2 separate regions of the Homo sapiens genome follow, and region 2 is linked to region 1. Evidence: promoter capture Hi-C in human tissues and cell types (Jung and others, 2019). All regions are on one chromosome and are shown on one strand. The core of a region is centred on a gene start or on the middle of the fragment in contact, and the rest is flanking DNA. Distances in the headings are between cores, read along the strand shown. Region 1 holds the start of MAB21L2 (mab-21 like 2). Region 2 has its middle 64 kb from the start of DCLK2.

Region 1 (2,700 bases), core at 46-2,545:
TGTGTAATCAATAACAGGATAGTTATAGATTTTTGTGGCAGTGAAGTCTTTTAAAAGCAAGAGTCAATTATGAAAATAAAATCATTTTACAAATGAAACTCTGTACCTGTACCCCCTAAGAATACATTCACAATTAGATTTACAACAGTAAGATTTTAAGAAAACTTTAGGTTTACATTTACTTGCCTTGTTTTTCATTAAGTTTGAAGCAATTTTAGTAGCTTATTTTAAAAGTATATCCTACTAAGTTCTACGACATGTAAGTTTGCACCATTTCTCACAACTTAGATATTTTCTCTCTCGTAACTAGTTAATTCTTGTAACGATAAAATAATGGTATTAAATACATGTGAATCTTAATTATGAAATAATTATCAAACAAGGTGCTTGGACTAGTTTTTGCCCTGCCCTGTTTTTAAACAGCATATCGAAATTACTAAAAAGAGATTTATAAACCCTCACCTTATATCCACTCCAACCCTCACTGGTGCACATATACAGCAACTGCTCTGATTCTTGGCAACAATGGGAGGGGAGGGGAAGAGAAAGGAGGATGACTTTAAAGGAGGAAAAAACCTGGAAAAATTAGGTCCTTTCCCAGATTCCCCTTTCGCTTCCCATTTGCCTTCAAGCCAAAGTAATTTTGTTACAGTTTGCACCTTCTACTACACAATGTTGATAGAATCATTTAAAAAAAAAAAAAGTGAACCTTTCTGAACCATTGCTACTCTCCCTCGCGTTATTCCAGCCATCTCCAGGAGAGTCCCTTCTATATAAACTCTTTTTCTTCTTTGCTACTGATAAGAGAGGAGGATAAAGAGGAACGGCTGTAAAATGTGTGCAAGCATTTGACTCCCATTATCTCCTCCTATTTTCTTACTTCTCTCTTTACCCTGTTTCTTTATCAAGTGCAGTGGTGGCTGCTACCGTTCGCCAAGCGTGCCTGTCTTCTCTCTCGGATTGGCTAAAGCACTGACAGCTCGGATAGCGATTGTAGGAACTGAAGCTCCACCCCCTCATGATGGCCCTGGGACCATTCATAAACTAAATAACTCCAGGAAACAGCGAGGGAGAGAGAGAAAGAAAGAGAGAGGGAGAGAGAGAGACAGAGAGAGTTAGAGGAAAGAAGAGAGAGCGAGCACGAGGAAGGGGGGCGGGGGAGAGAAGCAGGGGGAGAGCGGGGCGAGAAAGAGGTCGGAGGGGAGAGGAGGGGGAGAGACGACTCAGAAAGTGGAATCTGTAAAAGCAAGCTAGAGGAGAAGAAGGAAAACCCTGAATCGTTATAACTACACCCCAGATGCAACGCAAGCAACGACTTCGTCACACTAAAACGGATTTTGTGAGGGCCAAAAGTATAAATTACGAAGCAGAAATGATTATCAAACAACTTCCAGCGGTTTGCACCTAAAGAAACACAAGGAGAACCCACTACAAACAAACAAACCCAGTCCAAACAACGCCTCCAGTAGGAAAAGAGGAAAACTGCGATAACACGACCCCCCGAGAAGAGACGAGACCAACACGCTGAGACTGTGGGGCGTCAGCAAACCTCCAAGTGCACGGCGGACTGAGTTGTACTTCGCAGCTCTCTGGACATTAATTACCTCCTGCACCTTCCATTTGGGGGAGGGTGAGGAAGAAGGCACTCACCTACACTGAGCGAAGAAGTCCTATCAGCGTGGAAGAGAAGTTTAAGAATGAACCACTGAATGTTTCGCTTTTATTTTTAAATTTACTTTGGCACTTAAAAAACCTCATTTCCAGATTTCTGGACAATCTCGGCTGCAGACATCTAAGCCTAACCTTTTGGTATCCTGAGTTTTTTCCCTCTCCTTCTCCTTCCTCACGCCCACCCCGCTTCTCTCGCACACGGTCATCTTTACATATCAAGAGAAAGCAAAAAGGTTCCAAGAGGTACTTTTCTTTTTAGAAAATCACCTTTTCTCCCCTAATTCTTCTGCAGAAGAAAAGAGGTTTCGAAAGAGGGAAAAGGAAAAAACAAGCCGGCTACGGTATCAGCCGGTCAGCCCAGGTGGAAAACGAGAGTGAAAGTAGGGCTTAACGGGGAGCGCACCGCCTCTTTCGAAAGCCGCTGGGCCACCACCAGTGCGTGAGCCTTGGATCCCTCAACGTATTGCGAGACGCCGGTGTATAGCCCGGACCTGTGCCCCAACATGATCGCCGCTCAGGCCAAGCTGGTTTACCAGCTCAATAAGTACTACACTGAGCGCTGTCAGGCGCGCAAGGCGGCCATCGCCAAAACCATCCGAGAGGTCTGTAAGGTGGTCTCGGACGTGCTCAAGGAAGTGGAGGTGCAGGAGCCTCGCTTCATCAGCTCCTTGAGCGAGATCGATGCCCGCTACGAGGGGCTCGAGGTCATTTCGCCCACCGAATTTGAGGTGGTGCTCTACCTAAACCAGATGGGCGTCTTCAACTTCGTGGACGACGGCTCGCTGCCCGGCTGCGCAGTGCTCAAACTGAGCGATGGGCGGAAGCGGAGCATGTCTCTCTGGGTCGAGTTCATCACGGCGTCGGGCTATCTCTCAGCGCGTAAGATCCGCTCGCGTTTCCAGACGCTGGTGGCCCAGGCGGTGGACAAGTGCAGCTATCGGGATGTGGTCAAGATGATCGCGGACACCAGCGAGGTCAAGTTGCGCATCAGGGAGCGCTATGTGGTGCAAATCACTCCGGCGTTCAAGT
Region 2 (2,700 bases), core at 102-2,601, 570 kb before region 1:
TTGTTGGCCTTATGTTCTATGGATGACACTGGTTTTGATTAGGAAGCAATTGAGAACTCAATGCCTCTCACATTTTGTGCCTTAGTACTTCTCTATCTCTGCTGGGAGAGCAGCAGTAATAAGAAACAGGTTCATGCTCATCATAATGTACCATTTCTGACTCAGAAATGAATACTAACTTGAGACTATGAACAATGCTCTTCTACTGGAAGCCCAACACCACAGAGGGTCTTTCTAGAACGTGTGACAAAAATGACACATTTTGAAGAAGAAGAAAAAAATGTTAGAAACCAAATAATCCTAGAAGCTTGGAAGCGTTTCTTTTTTTACAAAGAACATCATGGGTTTTCCATGTTCTATCTTCAGTAGGATGATGACCAGGGTCATTTTTATAGTTGCCTAAGAAATATATTTTTCCTCTATCACTATATTGAAATAAAAACTTTCTGTAAGTTCACTTTCTGCTATTACCATGTTAATATCACAAACAACATTAGATATAATTCTTGGAATTCTAGAAACTGTAATCTGATTTTTTAACAAATAGGATATTCCAGGCACTATGGAAATTTCTGATACTTGACTCCAAAAGCTCCTTAATAAACAACTTGTTAACTTCAGTGTCAATGTTGAGGGGAAACTGTTGATAAGCTATTAAGGTTAAGTTTTGCAAGGGCTTCCACCTTAAGAGAGAAAAAATAATCAGAATTTCATTGAGAGTAGCCTCTATGCAGAGGTACTACTTAAGTGCCTTATTCAATTACAGTCTCAGTTCATGTGACTTTGGTACAAGCATAGTTGATATAGCACCCCCAGGCTTGTGAAAGTGAATTGAAAACATATGTCCAGATGTTGGGGATATTATCTTGTACATGATACTTAACTTTTCTATACCTCAGTTTCTTTAACTATAAAAACAGGGGTAATAATAGCACTACAACTTAGAGCTAGTGTGAGAAATAAATTAACTGATCCCTGCAAAGTGCTTGGAAGAGTTCCTGGCACATAATAAATGTATCACTTTTTAAAACATTTTTTTTCCGACTTTCAAGTGAAGTCCCTCTAATTCTTGAGAGAAACTGCTTTTAAGTTTCTCATTCTCGGAAAACATGCTGACAACTTCATGTCATTAAAGATATCCTCAAAACCGAAATACATGAAGTATTAGCCTGTGTTCACACTGCTACAAAGAACTGCCTGAGACTGGGTAATTTATAAAGAAAAGAGGTTTAATTGACTCATAGTTCCCCATGGCTGGGAGGCCTCAGGAAACTTACAATCATGGCGGAAGGCGAACGGGAAGCAAAGACCTTCTTCGTATTGTGGCTGGAAAGAGAGAGCTAGCAAGAACGGGGAAAACTGTCTCATAAAACCGTCAGATCTCTTGAGAACTCACTCACTATCACGAGAACAGCATGGCAGAAACTGTTCCCATGATCCAGTCACCTCCCACCAGGTCTCTCCCTCAACACCTGGGGATTACAATTCAGGATGAGATTTGGGTTGGGGACACAGCCAAACCATATCATTCCATCCCTGGCCCCTCCCAAATCTCATGTCCTTTATACATTTCAAAACACAATCATGCCTTCCCAACCATCCCCCAAAGTCTTAACTCATTCCAGCATTAACCCAAAAGTTCGAGTCCAAAGTTGCATCTGAGACAAAGCAAGTCCCTCCCACCTAGGAGCCTGTAATATCAAAAGCAAGTTAGTTACTTCTAAGACACAATGGGGTTTGCGGGCATTGGATAAATGTGCTCATTCCAAATGGGAGGAATTGGCCAAAACAAAGGGGCTACAGCCCCCATGTAAGTCCAAAATCCAGCTGGGCAGTCATTAAATCTTAGAGCTCCAAAGAGCTCTTACTCTCCTTTGACTCCATGTCTCACATCAAGGGCACACTGATGCAAAGGGCTGGCTTCCACAGCCTTGGGCAGCTCCACCCCTGTGGCTTTGAAGGTAACAACCCCACACCCCTTCCCTGGCCACTTTCACAGCTGGCAAGTGTCTGCGGCCTTTCCAGGCACACAGTGCAAGCTGTCAGTGGATCTACCATTCTGGGGTCTGGAAGACAGTGACCCTCTTCTCACAGCTCCATGAGGCAGTGTCCCAGTAGAGACTCTGTGTGGGAGCTCCACCCCACATTTCCCTTTGGCCCTGCCCTAGCAGGGGTTCTCCATGAGGGTCCTGCCCCTGCAGCAGACCTCTGCCGGGACATCCGGGCATTTCCATACATCCTCTGAAATCTAGGTGGAGGTTCCCAAATCTCAGGTCTTCTCTTCTGCACACCCACAGGCACAACACCACATGGAAGCTAACAAGACTTGGGGCTTGCACCCTCTGAAGTAATGGCCTGAGCTGTACGTTGGCCCCTTTTAGCCATGGCTGAGATGCCAGGCACCAAGTCTCAAGACTGCACAAAGCAGCAAGTCCCTGGGCCAAGCCCACAAAAACCATTTTTTCCTCATAGGCCTCCAGGCCTCTGAGGGGCAACCATGGGAGAGGCAACCATGAAGGCCTCTGACATGCCCTGGAGATATTTTCCCCATTGTCTTGGAGATTAACATTTGGCTCCTCATTACTTATGCAAATTTCTGCAGCTGGCTTGAATTTCTCCCCTGAAATAGAGTTTTTCTTTTCTACCACATTGTCAAGCTGCAAATTTTCCAAACTTTTATTCTCTGCTTCCCTTTTAAAC

The links. The method cuts DNA at HindIII sites, captures the fragments that hold promoters and counts their contacts. A contact is called where the count stands out against the background at its distance.
Region 2: a contact is called between a fragment that was not itself captured here and the fragment with the promoter of MAB21L2 in region 1, in 1 of the 25 tissues and cell types used here (IMR-90 fibroblasts).

What each region holds. Positions count from the first base shown.
Region 1 is chr4:150,580,856-150,583,555 of GRCh38, forward strand. It overlaps MAB21L2 (mab-21 like 2), which reads left to right and starts at 1,296. Exons shown (of 1, transcript NM_006439.5): 1 at 1,296-2,700. The coding sequence starts at 2,175. All of the region lies in intron 40 of LRBA (LPS responsive beige-like anchor protein), which reads right to left. LRBA-AS1 (LRBA antisense RNA 1) reads left to right here. Exons shown (of 2, transcript NR_149035.1): 2 at 1-379. The HindIII fragment of the contact is 7,167 bases long and covers 1-2,700 here.
Region 2 is chr4:150,013,327-150,016,026 of GRCh38, forward strand. No RefSeq gene overlaps it. Among named protein-coding and RNA genes, the nearest start is that of DCLK2, 64 kb to the right of the region's middle. The HindIII fragment of the contact is 4,199 bases long and covers 1-2,700 here.